4 separate regions of the Homo sapiens genome follow, and regions 2, 3 and 4 are each linked to region 1. The links are contacts of gene promoters, found by promoter capture Hi-C in human tissues and cell types (Jung and others, 2019). All regions are on one chromosome and are shown on one strand. Each heading gives the region's core, a stretch centred on a gene start or on the middle of the fragment in contact. The rest is flanking DNA. Distances are from core to core; before and after follow the strand shown.

Region 1 (4,528 bases), core at 717-3,216:
CAAGTGAGAGTCACTGGGGGAACGGTCTATAGTAGTATCCTAATTGTGTATCTTTAGTTTATTGTGAGCATGTATGATGTCTGTTAATATTTTCCTCCAGTAGTAGAGAAAACGTGCTAAGGAAAAAAAAAAATGAAGATGGAGAGAGTAGAAACAGCAAGTGAGAAGGCTTTCTGAAACATGTAAATGGAGTGGGAAGGACTCAATGGGCTCTCCCACCCCACCAAAAATATCCTTCTTTTACCTTATGGTTTTTATAATGATCAAAGTGAGATTTGCCTGTACTCCCACCATGAGATGGCCCAGCATATTGATGGAAATCCTTCCAGACAAAATGGCTCTGGCATGCTCTGCAGACAGTACTATATTATACACCTTTCTTATGCCAGTGCAGAGATGAGCCCGATTTGAAGGGCTGCATGATGTTCTTTTGAATGTACGATTTATTTAACCTCTTCTGCACTGAGGAACGTTTAGGTGTTTTCCCATTTTTCACCACTACAATCAGTGTGCACGCATGTTTCCAGTTCTTAAATTTAGGATACGTTCTGGGAAGGGATTAATGAGACAGATTTTTACTTTTCATACATTGTGTCAAACTGCTTTCCAAAAAATACGGAAACAGTTGATCCTCCCACCAGCAGAGAAGACTCTCTTCACCCTTGCATGACTGGGAATAATTCTTCATTCTTGGAATTCTGTGGGTTAAAAAAGACGTTTCATTAAATATCTGTTCCTGTTTTTATATCTTCCCCGTTGGCCCCAAAGTGCTCCTTGCCTATTAGCCTAGTTGGCACCTTGTTACAGGTTGCACCCACCTTTGGCTCTTAGTTTCTTAATTGTTCACTGCTTATAGCTTTTTTGTAAGCAAATCAGATTTCTGTAATACAGCCGTAAAGTTAGAGATATATAGATCTGTATTTTTATTTACCTACAGTAAGTGTGGTGTGGAAGGAGAGGGAATTTGAACAAAGATCAGATAGGTTGTGGTTCCATGCTTGTGGAGTGGCCCTCCGTTGGTGGGGCTGGAAGTGCGTGGGTGCAGGGGCGGGGTGGGGTCCCTCTAAGCTGGCAGGGTCGGGGCAGCAACTTGTAGGGCACTCAGAGCAGCCTCTCCAGCTCCTTCTGCCCTGCCCGCAGCTCATGATGGAGCAGTCCAAGAAGTCCTCCCTCATGGTGGCCCGCAGTATTCTCAACAACAAGCTCATCAGCAAGAAGCTGGAGCGCTACCTGAAGGTGAGGCACTGGTCCGGGCCTGCCCTGTCCCCAGCTTAGTCCCCGCCTGTGCTCCCTCCCTTCAGTGTCCGCGCCCCTCCCCACAGGGCGAGAACCCTTTCACCGACAGCCCCGAGGAGGAGAAGGAGCAGGAGGAGGCTGAGGGCGGTGCCCTGGACGAGGGGGCGCAGGGCGAAGCGGCAGGGATCTCGGAGGGCGCAGAGGGCGTGCCGGCGCAGCCTCCCGTGCCCCCAGAGCCAGCCCCCGGGGCCGTGTCGCCGCCACCGCCGCCGCCCCCAGAGGAGGAGGAGGAGGGCGCCGTGCCCTTGCTGGGAGGGGCGCTGCAACGCCAGATCCGCGGCATCCCGGGCCTCGACGTGGAGGACGACGAGGAGGGCGGCGGGGGCGCCCCGTGACCCGAGCTCGGGGCGGGCGGAGCCCGCGTGGCCGAAGCTGGAAACCAAACCTAATAAAGTTTTCCCATCCCACCTCCGGGTTTCTCTGTTACTGTGCCGCGCGGGCGGGGCGGGGTGGGCAGAGGGGCGGGGTGCGCATGCGCGCGGGCCGGGCCGTCGGGCACCGCGGTGGGACCACAACTCCCATTAGGCCACGGAGCTGGATCGTAGCAGCCCGAAAGGCCAGCTGGGACGGCGAGGGCGGGCCCTCGTGAAGACCAGCCAATGGGGGCGCGCGGAAGTAGTGACGTGTGCGCCTGGTCTTCCAGTAGTCGATGGCGGAGGTGCGCTGAACGCATGCGTGCTGTGGTCGCCTAGTAAACGGGGCTGCTGGTGGGCCGCGTCGAAGACATGGACCAGGGCTACGGAGGTTTGTGTTGGCTGCTGGGTGCGGAGCGGGGAGGGAAGGCTCTGTGCGGGCGACGCAGCCGCTGCGCAGACTGCCGCCGGCCGGGCCTTCGTCCCGAGCGTGGTTGCCCCAGCTGGGCCCTCCGGAGAGGCGGCCAGGGCGCGCGCGCGCCGCTCATTGGGCTTTGGCGCCGTCGCTCCCGGGGCTCTGCGTGCGGATTGGCCGCCAGGCCCCGAGGAGGCGGGCGGGACTCGGGGTTGGGGCAGACGCCGCGGTGGGCTTCGTGGGGGCGTCTTAGACAGTGTGGGCCGTTTTTGCCCCTCACCTTCGGCGGAGTCCTTCCGGCCCCCAGCGACCCCGGGGTTTGCACTCCCGGCTTCCTCTTCCGAAGACGCCACAAAATGGCGGCGCTAGGGGGGCGGAGCTACAGCGTGGGGTTGTGAGGTCGGACCCGGGGAGCTGGGTCTGGGGCCGCGGGCGGACCGCGGGGGCCGCCTCTCTCCCGACCTGCCCTAGGCCCGCGGGGCCGTGTAGGGTCTCCGCTGGGCTCACGTGGCCCAGGGCGCCTGTCCCGGAAGCCGTCGGGCTGCGCGGGGTCGGGCCTTTAGTCCCCGGTGCAGCGCGGTGGGGCCGAGTGCTGCCGGCGCGAGAGTCAGCCTCGCCGGGCTCCAGCTCTGTACCCGGCGCGTGCTGGCTTGGGACAGGATGGTGAGGGGCAGATGCTGAGTGTTCGTATAAAGCTGGAAACCTGATGTGCCCTGGGGCTGGTGACATTGGCAGTTCTCCTTTAGGCAGTCTGTTGTGGTGGCCTGGAGGGGCCGAGGGGCTGTGCAGGAGGGAACGTGTCCTTTCCCCACTAGGATTTAGCGCTTGGCCTGCAGTAGGGCCGATCTTCTCGAGCTGCCTGCTCCCTGCTTCTGGAATCAGAGCCTTTTGGGAGCAAAGTTTGCCCACAGGGGATAGTTGGGACATGCTGGGTGGAGCTCGACTGGTTGTAGAGAAGCTAGTGGTCTGATCCTGGCTGCAGGAGCTCGAGAAGTTGTCGATCTTGAGAAGTGGCAGGGCAAAAGTATCCCAGCACCAGAAATTGCAGAGAGAGGTTTCGGTCCTGAGGCGGCAGCGTGCGCGGTGTGCTTTGGTGTCTTCCGGGTCCTAGCGAAGGCTCAGCCTGGCTCTCCTGGTCTTCCGCAGCCTGGGTAGATTTCACCATTCTTTCCCTTCTTTCCCATCAGATCTTTTCTGCAGGTATTGTATTCCTTCTTTTCATTCTTAGTTTGGAGAGGTTTTTTTTACCCCCTCTTCCTACCTGCCGAAAACCTTTCAGACACACTGGAGATAGTTAAGCTTCCCTGATTTCTTGTGTTTCCGGGAGCGTTTTAAGGTTAATAGTGCGTGCCACTTACACTAGAGCTTCACAGAGAAGCAGTCTCTCGAGGTTGGTTACTTGCTGTTGGAATCTGCAGTCTGCCTTTCTGCTGCACGGATGCGAATTTAGAAGGTTTTGCGGTATGACGGAGGGGAAGGCGTAGCATAGCAGAGGGCAAAACTCAGCAGTATGACTGGGTCAAGTCTCGTAACCCATGAGCCTAGCTCCCTTGTCTCTGAATGGCATTCCGGACAACAGGGTTTGCTGGGTGCTTGCGGTGTATCGGCACGCACTAGGCACTTAGCCGGGGGCGGGGGAGTTGTTCTGGTGAGGGAGACATGGATATGTTCCTGCCTCATCAAAGTGAAGTCATTTAACAGGCATGGTGGCCACCCGCGCGCAGCTCAGTGCTGGGCCCCAGGGACACAGAAATAAAGAGAACACAGTTCCCATTCTCCTTCCTGGAGGGACCAGACAGATGCCATAGTGGGCGGGGGGTGTGGAGGGGTGAAGAGTGCTGTCTGATGCCTTAGGGCCAGGCGAAGGCTCTGGGACTTAAAGGTCCAGGGGATCCGTGGAGGCCTTAAAAGTGGCAGGAAGGGCCTGGCGCGGTGACTCACGCCTGTAATCCCAGCACTTTGGGAGGCCGAGGCTGGCGGATCACGAGGTCAGGAGATCGAGACCATCCTGGCTAACATGGTGAAACCCCGTCTCTACTAAAAACACAAAAAATTAGGCGGGCGTGGTGGCAGGCGCCTGTAGTCCCAGCTACTCGGGAGGCTGAGGCAGGAGAATGGCGTGAACCCAGGAGGCGGAGCTTGCAGTGAGCCGAGATCGCGGCACTGCGCTCTAACCTGGGCAACAGAGCAAGACCCCGCCTCAAAAAAACAAAAAGTGGCAGGAAGTGCAGCTTAGAAAGATGCAATTTATGTCACTAAATTCCCATGCTTGTTTTCAGTTACGAAGTACTTGTGATGGCACTCTGAACTGGTTTCCTAGCTGTGTGGTGGGTGGGGGAACGTGTCCTCATGCTGAGTGGATTGTCTTGTGTTAGCCTCAGTTGTGGATGAAATCTTGGAGAGGTGAGGTCCTTGGCCAAGGTCCCTCTGCAGGGCGGAGCTGACTTCCAAGCCCACTTCCCAC
Region 2 (4,528 bases), core at 1,396-3,895, 230 kb after region 1:
AGCATATACCATGAAAAGAAAGAGAAAGGAGCATTGCAAGGAACAGATTTATCATCTAAGTTTAATGCTCCTGGAGAAAGGAATAAGATGAGGCCAGGTCCGACAGCTCACAGGCTAACAGGAGACACAGAGGAACACAGACAATATGAAGAGACAACCCAGGACTTCTGGTAGCCCAGATACTGCATATGACTAGCTTGGGGGTTCTTACAGAAGGCTTCCTGGAGAAGGTGATGCTGGTGGTGTGTTTTTAGTAAAAGTAGGAGTGAGTGTTGTTATGAGTGGAGCAATGGCTGTATTTAGTAGTAGAGGAGGTGGCAGGGGTCATATCACAACAGTCTTGGATGTGAAGATGGAGGGATTTTAAACTTTGAAAGCAATGGGGAGCCATGGAAGGTGCTTGCGTAGAGGAGGAGCACAGCTTGAGTTTTCTGTCCTGGGGTCAGTGCAGAGGTCAGACTGGAGGGAGTTGACACTGCAGGTTCTTGCAACAGGTAAGAATAATGCAGTCCTGAGTTGGGGTGGAGGTGAGGGGATAGAGAGAATTTTGGGAGGAAGAATGCTGATTTGGTAATTAATGGTCTAGGGAAGGAGGGATGGAGAAGGCTGAGGTCACCAAGAGATGTTAAACCTGGGCAACATTGGTAGAACAACATCAAATGATCCACTCCTTCCTCCCTCTCTTGAGGGCAGGGCCTGGGGGTGCATTTCCTCAGGAAGCAGCCTTGCCTAGCGCAGGTGGGTACTAGGAGCATGAATGAATGCTCTGCCATTCATTAATGAATTTCTGCTTGTTATCCACAAAAAGAAATAGTAATTAGTCCTTTTCCCGCTCTGTGCATGCAGGGTCTGTGGGCTTAGGAAGCTGACCCAGGGGTCTTGAGTTTCCTGGAGGGAAAATCCCCTCAGGGTGCCACCTGCCTGAGCTCCGTGGGACTTCTTAGTGTTCAGGGGGCCTGTGGGATGGCAGCTCTGGGGACCCTCAGCATAACAGGAGCTGTGTCCTCAGCCCCTCCCTTTTTAGGTGGTGAACAGAGCGATGCCAGCAGGCACTGCAGGAGCCTCCCTTGGCAATGGTGAGTGTGAATTCAGAGGCTTTTCCTGGCTGAAGGAGCCACCCCGGCCCATCCCTGGCCTTAAGGTTCAGATCTACAAATAAGTGGGGAGAGAGAGAAACTGTAGAGGGACTATGCTAACCCAGAAAAGGCTAAGCAGTGACACACTTGAATGGAGTTTCCCAGAAAGGTGTTCGATCTGTTTTTTGCCAACTACAAAGCATGGGCTGGAGAAGAATATAAGATTTTCCCAGAAAGGCAAGGAGGCGCATCTGGGGGAACCAAAAGAGACCCTTGAAAAGTCACACACATGCAGACACTGCATCATGGTGTGAACAGGTGTGCAAGCAGACAGGGAAGATATGGGGTGTGGACACGCATGTGCCCTAGAGTCTCATGAGTGCGCGCGCACACACACACACACAGAGTCATTTAGGGTGGGGCTGAAAGGGGCGGAGAAGGGCCTTTGGGGGTCTTCCTGATGAGAAGAAAGAGGAAAAGGAAAGACTCCAGACCCCAGTCCCATGCATTCCTCAGCTTCCCGGCTCCAGACAGCTCTCAGGAGTGTCACCTGGTCCCCTCTCCCCTGCACTGTGGAGGTGGCATTGGCTTGGTCCTTGAACTCAGCACCAACTGGTTCCCTGTAACTCTCTCACTAAGCAAGCAACCAGCCTGGGCGCTCTCAATGGGTGCAATTTTCATGGGTTCCAGGTAGGCAAATAAGGAATATTCTACTCCTGTGAATTGACCTCTTTTTGGGTCAGGCCTGGAATCTGGACACATTGCAGCAAACTCAGTCACAGCTCCTCAGCTGTTGCAGAGTTAATGTTCAGCCACATTTGGGATTTCCTCCTTTCTTCTTCCTTCTGTCTGGGGTGGGTGCAGGGGGTTGGGGCAGACGCCACCTCCAAGATGAGAGCGGAGAGGGGCCAGGTTGTCGGTTTGAGAGCTCTAGACACTGTGGGTCCCCACCCCCAGCAATCCTGAGATGGACAGAGTCCTCGCTGAACTCCAGCTGGGCTGGCCCTGCCCCTATCCCCCAGTGTGACTCTGCCAGCTCCTCCACCAGCTCTTTCTTTGAGCCTATTTCTGTTTTTAAAACAATAAATTTTTTTTTTTTTTGAGACAGAGTCTCACGCTTGTTGCCCAGGCTGGAGTGCAATGGTGCGATCTCAGCTCACTACAAACTCCGCCTCCTGGGTTCAAGTGATTCTCCTGCTTCAGCCTCCCAAGTAGCTGGGATTACAGGTGTGTGCCACCACACCCGGCTAATTTTTGTATTTTTGGTAGAGACGAGGTTCCACTATGATGGACAGGCTGGTCTTGAACTCCTGACCTCAGGTGATCCACCCACCTTGGCTTCCCAAAGTGCTGGGATTACAGGCGTGAGTCACTATGCCCAGCCAAAAAAAATTTTTAATTAAAAATATTTAAATATTTGTTCAATGAATACATGAATGAATGGAAATGGTTAAGGTTTTTTTTTTTTCTTTTGAGACAAGATCTCGCTGTGTTGCCCAGGCTGGAGTGTAGTGGCATGATCACAGCTCACTGCAGCCTCAACCTCCTAGGCTCAAGCAGTTCTTCCACCTCAGCCTCCAAAGTAGCGGGGACCACAGGAGCACACCACTGCACCTGACTTATTTGTTTATTTATTTAATTTTTTTGAGATGGAGTCTCACTCTCTTGCCCAGGTTGGAGTGTAGTGCCATAATCTCAGCTCACCGCAACCTCCGCCTCCCGGGTTGAAGCGATTCTCCTGCCTTAGCCTCCCAAGTAGCTGGGATTACAGGCATGTGCCACCACACCCAGCTAATTTTTGTATTTTTAGTAGAGACAGGGTTTCACCATGTTGGCCAGGCTGGTCTTGAACACCTGATCTCAAGTGATCTGCCTGCCTTGGCCTCCCAAAGTGCTGGGATTACAGGCATGAGTCACCATGCCCGGCCTGTCTCTAAACTCACTTCTAACCCATCAAAAAATTCATTGGGCTTCACCTTCACAACCCATCCAGATGGGCAAGTCCTCACCACCTCCATGTGCCCACCATGGCAAGCCCACTTCCAATGGCCCACGTGGTCCACACTGATCCCATTATCATCGGCCTGGACCAGCCTAGTCACCTCTTAACCTGCTGTGTCCAATGCCTCACGCACAGTTTTCCCATAGCCACCAGAGGGCGTCTGGGAACACCTGAGCCTGGGGATGTCCCTCTTCTGCTTAGACCCCTCCATAGTCCCACCTCATTAGGAGTAAATGCCAAGTCCTCCCCTTGATCTACAAGGCCTACACAACATCCCTCTGTCCCCTCCCTGTGCTTACCTGCTCCCTCTCCCTCACTGTCTCTCCCTCACTATTCCTCCTTGCTGCTCCTGTACCAGGCATGGTGCAGCCACAGGGTGTTGCCTCTACCTGGAATGCTCTCCTCCGTCTTGACTCATTCCCTCATTCTTTTTCAATTGTGAATTTGGGGTCTTTGCCTGGCTGGAGAAGCCACGCTGATCCATCTCTAGCCTAGAGCTGAGATCAGAAAATTGGGGCAGTCAAGGAAGGAGAAATTGGAATGCTCTCCTCCGTCTTGACTCATTCCCTCATTCTTTTTCAATTGTGAATTCGGGGTCTTTGCCTGGCTGGAGAAGCCACGCTGATCCATCTCTAGCCTAGAGCTGAGATCAGAAAATTGGGGCAGTCGAGGAAGGAGAAATTCTGAGCTGACCGTGATTAAACATCAACAAGGACTTTTCTGACCATCCCATTAACAATGGCAACTCTCCCCTGATTTCTCAATTCTCCCTTTAGGTCCTCTTTTCTGTTTCTAGCACTTAGCTCTGATGTAACTCACTTGTTGAGTTATCCTGTTTGTGGCTGATTGCGCGGCTGCCTCCCTTAGTACCTTCTGCTCCTCCAGGGCAGGTATCTCTGCCCATTTAGTTCCCTGCTGTGTCCTCATGCCCTCAGAAGCACCTGTCACAGAGGAGCTGTTCATGAAGATGTGTGTAATGAAAGGTGAGTCGCTGAAACTCACACTCCTGAAAGCACAGCCTCCAGAGACAGACTCCTGGGTTCCAATCCTGATGCCAGGACTGAGAATGTGAGCAAATTAAACCTGCTATACTCTGCCTCTCAAGCAGTGCAGAGCAGAGAATAAGAATCCCAGGCGTCCTCATAAGAAGTTAGAGACCGGCTGAGTGTGGTGGCTCATGTCTGTAATCCCAGCACTTTTGGAGGCCAAGGCAGGCAGATCACCTGAGGTCAGGAGTTCGAGACCAGCCTGGCCCATGGCCAACATGGTGAAACCCCGTCTGTACTAAAAATACGAAAACTTAGCCGGGCGTGATGGTGGATGCCTGTAATCCCAGTTACTTGGGAGGCTGAGGCAGGAGAATTGCTTGAACCCAGAGGCAGAGGTTGCAGTGAGCTGAGACTGCACCACTGAACTCCAGCCTGGGTGACAGAGCGAGACTCAGTCTAAA
Region 3 (2,779 bases), core at 280-2,779, 190 kb after region 1:
TCAGGAGTTTGAGACCAGCCTGGTCAATATGGTGAAACCCCATCTCTACTAAAAACACAAAAATTAGCTGCGCGTGGTGGTGCACACCTGTAATCCAAGTCTCTCAGGAGGCTAAGGCACGAGAGTAGCTTGAACCCAGGAGGTGGAGATTGCAGTGAGCCAAGATTGCACCACTGCACTCTAGCCTGGGTGACAGAGTGAGACTCCTTCTCAAATTTAAAAAATAAAAAAAAGATTATGCTAGGCCGGGCACAGTGGCTCATGCCTGTAATCCCAGCACTTTGGGAGGCCAAGATGGGAGGATCGCTTGGGCCCAGGACTTTGAGACCAGCCTGGACAACATAGTGAGTTTTTGTCATCTCTACAAAAACTTGGTAGGCTGGGTGTGGTGGCTCACGCCTGTAACCCCAACACATTGGGAGGCCCAGGCGGGTAGATTGCTTGAGCTCAGCAGTTTGAGACCAGCCTGGGCAACATGGCAAAACCCTATCTCTACCAAAAATACAAAAAATTAGCTGGGCATGGTAGCGCATGCCTGTAGTCCCAGCTACTCTGGATGCTAAGGTTGAAGGATGGCTTGAGCCCAGAAGGTGGAGGTTGCAGTGAGCTGAGACTGAGCCACTGCGTTCCAGCCTGGGAGACAGTGTAAGACCGTGTATAACAAAAAAGAGAGAGAAAAAAAGATGATGCTGGAGGCAGCTTTAGTGGGGAAGTGTAAGCCTGGGAGAGGCTTGGGAGGAGGCTGACATTGCACTGATGCATGGCTCAGGGCAGAAGCCATTGGAATGGGGAACTCCTGGGAGTTACCTTTGGAAGTGGCAAAGATCAGAGAACATGTTTAGGAGGGGAACGTGGATATAGAAAGAGGGCATACATGGCAGAGGGTATTACAGAAGCAAAGGCTGGAGTGTAGGACCCTTTTGTAATCAGAAGAGTCAAAAGGTTTTAAAACAATATGTGGATGTTTGCAATTTATTTTATTTTATTTTTGAGACAGAGTCTCACTTTGTCACCCAGGCTGGAGTACAGTGGCATGATCTCAGCTCACTGCAGCCTCGACTTCCTGGGCTCAAGTGATCCTCCCACCTCAGTCCCCCAAGTAGCTGGGATTACAGGCGTGCGCCACCATGCCCGGCTAAGCTTTGTATTTTTTGTAGAGACGGGTCTCACTATATTGCCCAGGCTGGTCTTGAACTCTTGAACTCAAGCGATGCACTCACCTTGGCCTCCCAAAGTGCTAGGATTATAGACGTGAGCCACTGTGCCCGGTCTGCAATTTATTTTTAAATGGTTTAGAAAAGAAGATTGGTAGATTAAGCTAACAATAGTTGAATCTAGGTGGTGGGTATATGAATGGTCAACTTTTCTGTATGTTTGATAGTTCTCATAATAAATGGATTAAAAAAGCAGCTACTAAATACTGTTTAGGTTTAATAAAAACAACAGGCCGGGCGCGGTGGCTCACGCCTGTAATCCCAGCACTTTGGGAGGCTGAGGCAGGCAGATCACCTGAGGTCAGGAGTTTGAGACCAACCTGGCTAACTTGGTGAAACCCCGTTTCTACTAAAAATACAAAAAATTAGCCGGGCGTGGTGGCACATGCCTGTAATCCCAGCTACTCGGGAGGCTGAGCAGGAGAATCGCTTGAACCTGGGAGGTGGAGGTTACAGTGAGCCAAGATCGCGCTATTGTACTCCAGCTTGGGCAACAAGAGCGAAACTTCGTCTCAAAAAACAAAACAAAACAACAACAACGACAAAACAATACTCAAGGGGTGTGGGCCTTTTGGGCAGAGCAGGAAGATCTGCCTATGACTTCTGCTTACCACTTCCCAGGCCTCCTGTGTCACCTGGATGACGCCTGTGTCAGCAACCCCTGCCACGAGGATGCTATCTGTGACACAAATCCGGTGAACGGCCGGGCCATTTGCACCTGTCCTCCCGGCTTCACGGGTGGGGCATGTGACCAGGATGTGGACGAGTGCTCTATCGGTGAGGGGAGCTCCATCGTCTGTGAATGGGCTGGGAAAGAGGGGAGAGGAGGGGGTCCCGGCCAGCCACGCCCACACCGATCGCACTCCATCCGGCAGGCGCCAACCCCTGCGAGCACTTGGGCAGGTGCGTGAACACGCAGGGCTCCTTCCTGTGCCAGTGCGGTCGTGGCTACACTGGACCTCGCTGTGAGACCGATGTCAACGAGTGTCTGTCGGGGCCCTGCCGAAACCAGGCCACGTGCCTCGACCGCATAGGCCAGTTCACCTGTATCTGTATGGCAGGTGGGTGGTGGGCGTGGCCTGGGCGGGTCCTGAGGCAGGGGGCGGGGACAGAGAAGCCCGCGGATGGGGAGCTGAGCAGAATGGGGTGTAAGTGGGTTTGGAGTGGGACCCTTAGAGACTGAAGCCTGGAAGGAGGTGGGGTCAGGACCAGAAGGGAATACTGTGTGATTCTGGGGGCTTGGTCAAATGGAGTCAGTAGAACCTCAGGTGGGCTGGGAGTATTCTTGGCCTTAGGACCCACTCGGGAAGGGGTTGGGGATAGAGAGGCAGAGTCGGGGCTGCTGTGAGGTCAAGGTGAAGCCTGCAGACAAGCTTGCAGTAAGCCTGGGCAAAGGCTATGGGGGGCCCTGGGGCTGGGGGCTGGGGACTGGGGAAAGGGCTTAGTCTGAGGACTGGGGAGAGGAGGAGGGGTTTGAAGGCAAGGCCTCTGCGGACACCCATGAGCCTTGGGCCAGTTGGGACCACGGCTGGGTGACAGTCCAGCCTGTGGCTGAAAATTAAGGT
Region 4 (4,528 bases), core at 1,031-3,530, 130 kb before region 1:
TCTAAATTTCTAAGGTTCTGAGAAAGAGCTTCAGAGTCATTTATGACTAATGAGGGCAGGGCCAAGTTGGCAAATGTGGTAAAGGAGACAGTCCTATCGCAGCTTTGATCATATTCAAACCTTTTGCTAATAATTTCCTTGGCCCAAAGGGGATCCTGGCAGAAAAAGAAGTTTTAAAACCACTAATAATCTAGACCATTGCAGGGTTGTAATTGTTTCTGCCCACCATCCCAAGTGTGGCCACACCTGGACATGAGCCTCAGAAAAGATTCTATAAAGGTCTGCCTCTTTGCTGTGCGACCTCGGGTGAGTGTCTGCACCTCTCTGAGCCTCAATTTCTTCATCCATTAAGACAGAAGCCCTATTTACCCACCTCATGGGGCTGCAATCTTCCAGGCACATAGTAAGCCTTTGATCAATGATATCTCTCATTACCGTTGGTGCTGCCATCACGTTCATTATTGTGACCTGGCCATCTGGGGTTTGGAGAATCAGGTCCAAGTTTTATCAACAAGGAGAGATGAGTCAGGCGCAGTGGCTCATGCCTGTAATCCCAGCACTTTGGGAGGCTGAGGCGGGTGGATCACTTGAGCCCAAGAGTTCAAGACCAGCCTGGGCAACATGGTGAAACCCCATCCCTACCAAAAATACAAAAAGTAGACAGGAGTGGTGGTGCATGCCTGTAGTCCTCCATACTCAGGAGGCTGAGGTAGGAGGATTGCTTGAACCCAGGAGATCGAGGCTGCAGTGAGCTATGATTATGCCACTGCACTCCTGCCTGGGTGACAAAGTGAGACCCTGTCTCAACAACAACAACAAAAAAAGAAAGAAAGAAAGAAAGAGAGAGAGACAGAGAAAAGAAAGAAAGAAAGAAAGAAAGAAGGAAGGAAAGAAAGAAAGGAAGGAAGGAAGGAAGGAAGGAAGGAAGGAAGGAAGGAAGGAAGGAAGGAGAGATGGGTCCCATTCCCTGAATGCCTCTCAAGTCATCCAAGCCCCTCTGCAGATACCAACCTGGGTCACCGCCAGACACCAGGCCAGAGTTAATGTTACTGTTCAGAAACCCAAGCTGGGCCATTTGGTGATGCCGGGGACATCGGAAAGTGGACTGAGGCTTTGGGGTCAAACAGGGCTTGTTTTTTCAAATCCCAGCTCTCCCACTGGGCACTGGGTATCCACAGGCACAGGCTTCTTCTCTCTGGCCCTCAGTTTCCGTGCCTGTAAAATGAGGGTGGTAGGGAAGATTTGGGGAGGTTCCTTCTCTTTGGGGTTTGGAGTTACACAAGAAGGAGTTTGATGCTGCCAGCCCTGGCTGGGCACAGCTCCAGGACCTAGAAATAAGGGGTGGAGCAAGGGGCACAGGGTAGGAGGAATTTCGGGTACGCAGCCAGCCCTGGCCATCTCCTTTGCCTACAGGGCGGTGAGACTCACAATGAGTGCATGAATGAGCTGTGAGCGGGCAGATGAACCAGGAGAGATGCCCTGAGCCTAGGCCTCTCCAGCCTGCGACTCCCCAGGTGGCCAGCCTCGGCCAACTTGCATACCCAGGCTGGGCCAGGCCCCTGGGAGGCCAGAAAACATCTTCCTTCCAGCATCTATCAGACGAAGATCACCTGGGACCAACCCCAGGACCTCACACAACCCTCAGAGCCAACTCTCGGGGCCAGAAGAACACCGTCTTTTCATAGAGGGGCTCTGCGTCTGGCATGGATGGGCAGAGGGTTCCTGATAGCAGTTGAACCACAAGCCTAACCCCATCGGTTGAATGTACTACAACCTCCCCGTCAAGACAACGTGCAGTGGTGAAATCTCAGGGCGAATCCCCATTCAGCCCCAAAGAGGCGTCCCAGGGCGGGGCTTGAACCCATCTGGGATGTCCTGACTACCAGAGGGGTCTTTTGGAGGCCCCCTGCCCATCACAGATACCCAGAGAAAAGGATGCGCCTAGGACTCCGAGGCGCACACAGAAAAAAAAAAAAAGAAAACAACTCACAAATGCAGCAAACGTCGGGGACACACCCACGTGCCCCTCTCCCCACGAGTGCCCCGGGCATGCAGCCCCGTCCTGGGTCCTGGGGGGGTCCCCGTGGCCGGCTGCGCCCCGCCCGCCGCCGCGCGCAGACCTTCGCCCTTGCCCCGCCAGCACCGAACCGCGCGAGCCTCGGGTTCCAGCGCAGCGCCGCGGCCGCGCTCAGGTTACAGCCCTCACCACGCGCGCACTCACCCGCGGGTCTCAGCCTCCTGCCCTCGATCCGGATCCACCGGCGCCACTACCTGGGATCTGACCGCGCCGTCCCACGGCCCAACCCTTTAACCCCGCCCGGCCGTGCCGAGGGGTCCGCCCCCGGACATCCCGCCCCGGGCTCCCGCAGGGTTCTGGGCGGGGACTCCAGCGCTGCCCCCTAGAAAAGGAGAGAACAAGAAATAGGCGTGTGGAGGGGTGGAGAGCGATGGAAAGAGAGAGAGACTGAGACTGAGATGGAGAGATGAAGAGAGACAGAGACTTGGACACCTAGAAGTCCCAAACCATCAGGCTCCCCGCCCTCCTGCCACTGCTGGGCCGCATTAGCGCCCAAGTCCCGCTCTGGACCACACTCCTCCCACACCAACACCCCCCATGGCCCTTACTTCCAGGTTTGCTCCCAAGCTTGGACAGCGATCTCTAAACCATCACCCCCTGGGGCCCCACTGACCCCCCCGAGAAGCCTCCTCTGGGGCCCTCAGGAATTCTCTGGCTCCACCAGCCCTTGGGAACCAGCCCTTCCCCTCTCTCTGGATCCTGGGCCTAAGCTTCCCCGGCACCCACCCCTGGAGGCTCTGCAGCCTCTTCCTCCAGGAAGACCTCCAACCTCAACAAGCAGCACCAGACTGGTTCTGCTCCCCGCCAACCCGCCCTCCGCCACTCCTCCCCACCCACTGCCAGACACCTTGACCCTCTGACCAGGATGTTGTCCTTGGCCAACCCGTCTACTCCAGATGTGTGGAGACAGAGTCAGCTCCGCCTCTGGATGTGTCTGTCCTCCGGAGTCGGTGGGTGGATGTGTGGCTGACCTTAGCACGTGGGCAGACAGATGAGAAGACAAGAATCTCCACTTGCCCCAGCAGGTGGTAAACTTAGAAGACTTCCTTATCCCTCTTTTTTCTAAGAATACGCTCTCATTTGGTGCTGGGCCCTTGGAAAGAGGGCGTGGGAGGTGTGGGGCATGTCTCCTGGTGAAGAAGAGGAGACACAAGTAATTGAAGTTTTGCTGCTTGGAGGAGGCAGACATGAGGTCAGGGAAGGCGACGTGGAGGATGTGACACTTGAGCTGGGACTGCATGGAGAGGTTGGATTTCAACAAGTGCAGGAGAGGGGGTAGAGCTCAAGCACAGAGAAACTGGAGGGTGTGACTTAGCAGATGGCTTTCCCTGGCCTTGGAGTGTGAGAGGTGTGGAGGCTGGAGGGATGCAGGAGTTGACTGTGAAGGCCAGTTTGAATGGCTGGATCTTGATCTGGTGGGCAGTGGGGAGCCATGGATGGTGCTTGAGTAGGGGAGGTGCCCCCTGTTAGTTGATTGGTCTCACTCTGTCATCCAGGCTGGGGTGACTCCTGGGCTCAAGCCATCCTCCTGCCTCAGCCTCCTGGGTAGTTGGGACTACAGACACGTGCCACCACACCCAGCTAATTTTTTTTTTTCATTTTTTTAGAGACAGGGTCTCACTATGTTGCCCAGGCTGGTCTCAAACTCCTGGGCTCAAGCCATTCTCCCAGCTCCTAGAACTTTTAAAAAAAAATATTTATATTTATTTGTGTCTTTAATCTTTTTTACTTCTGAGGAAGAGCTTATTTTATTAATTTTTTATTCATAATTAACGCAGCATGAAAGCCTATTTTTTAGGGATATGAATTTTGTTTTGCCAGTAATTCTGGCCAAGGGGGAGCTTACTAGAAGCACTTTGGAAAATGCAGAGATCCACATAGAGTGAAGTTTGAGAGGGACCCCTCCAGTGGCTGCAGGGGACAGAGACAAAGGGTGGGGGTAGCTGAGACCCAGGAAGGGGTTAAGGATGAGGTCCCGGAGGTCATCTCCACTGACCACTGGCTAAATACGGGGTTCTAGGGAAGAGAGAAGGAAAAGAAGCCATCTGCCTGGCTTCTCTGCTCTCAAAGAGCTGGAGACCAGGAAGGAGGAGTAAGTGAAAGGGCCTGGAGCACTAAGAGTGGGCTTCGTGGATGTGTGGCCTTGAGCTAGTCACATGGCTGCTCTGAGCCTCCATCTCCCTATGCATAAAATGCAGAAGAAGCCCATGTGATGAGGTGGTGTTCAGCCCCACTCCTGGCACAGGGCACAGGCTGGACAAACATCAGCTGTTTGAGTTTGCAGTTGATTGGGGCCATCCCAGCAGAGTAGAGTTTTCCGCCAGGGAATGTTTAGCAACATCAGGAGATCATACTGCTGGGTGGGGGGTAGAGGTGGGGGTGGGGGAATTCAGGGTGGTGCAACTGACATCTAGTGGGTGAAGGCCAGAGATATTATTCAACATCCAGAAC

The links. The method cuts DNA at HindIII sites, captures the fragments that hold promoters and counts their contacts. A contact is called where the count stands out against the background at its distance.
Region 2: a fragment that was not itself captured here is called in contact with the fragment with the promoter of AKAP8 in region 1 in 1 of the 25 tissues and cell types used here (pancreas).
Region 3: a contact is called between a fragment that was not itself captured here and the fragment with the promoter of AKAP8 in region 1, in 2 of the 25 tissues and cell types used here (H1 embryonic stem cells and spleen).
Region 4: a contact is called between the fragment with the promoter of CYP4F22 here and the fragment with the promoter of AKAP8 in region 1, in 1 of the 25 tissues and cell types used here (adrenal gland).

Annotation. Positions count from the first base shown.
Region 1 is chr19:15,377,225-15,381,752 of GRCh38, reverse strand. AKAP8 (A-kinase anchoring protein 8) reads left to right here and starts at 1,966. Exons shown (of 14, transcript NM_005858.4): 1 at 1,966-2,040. The coding sequence starts at 2,022. AKAP8L (A-kinase anchoring protein 8 like) reads left to right here. Exons shown (of 14, transcript NM_014371.4): 13 at 1,141-1,236; 14 at 1,323-1,703. The coding sequence ends at 1,631. RefSeq lists silencers at 1,341-1,830, 2,171-2,720 and enhancers at 995-1,909, 1,681-1,975, 1,910-2,825. The HindIII fragment of the contact is 19,214 bases long and covers 1-4,528 here.
Region 2 is chr19:15,149,313-15,153,840 of GRCh38, reverse strand. No RefSeq gene overlaps it. Among named protein-coding and RNA genes, the nearest start is that of HACL2, 26 kb to the right of the region's middle. The HindIII fragment of the contact is 9,854 bases long and covers 1-4,528 here.
Region 3 is chr19:15,188,485-15,191,263 of GRCh38, reverse strand. NOTCH3 (notch receptor 3) reads left to right here. Exons shown (of 33, transcript NM_000435.3): 7 at 1,836-1,991; 8 at 2,090-2,275. Among named protein-coding and RNA genes, the nearest start is that of MIR6795, 11 kb to the right of the region's middle. The HindIII fragment of the contact is 6,552 bases long and covers 1-2,779 here.
Region 4 is chr19:15,506,277-15,510,804 of GRCh38, reverse strand. CYP4F22 (cytochrome P450 family 4 subfamily F member 22) reads right to left here and starts at 2,280. Exons shown (of 14, transcript NM_173483.4): 1 at 2,222-2,280. RefSeq lists an enhancer at 2,136-2,636. The HindIII fragment of the contact is 20,579 bases long and covers 1-4,528 here.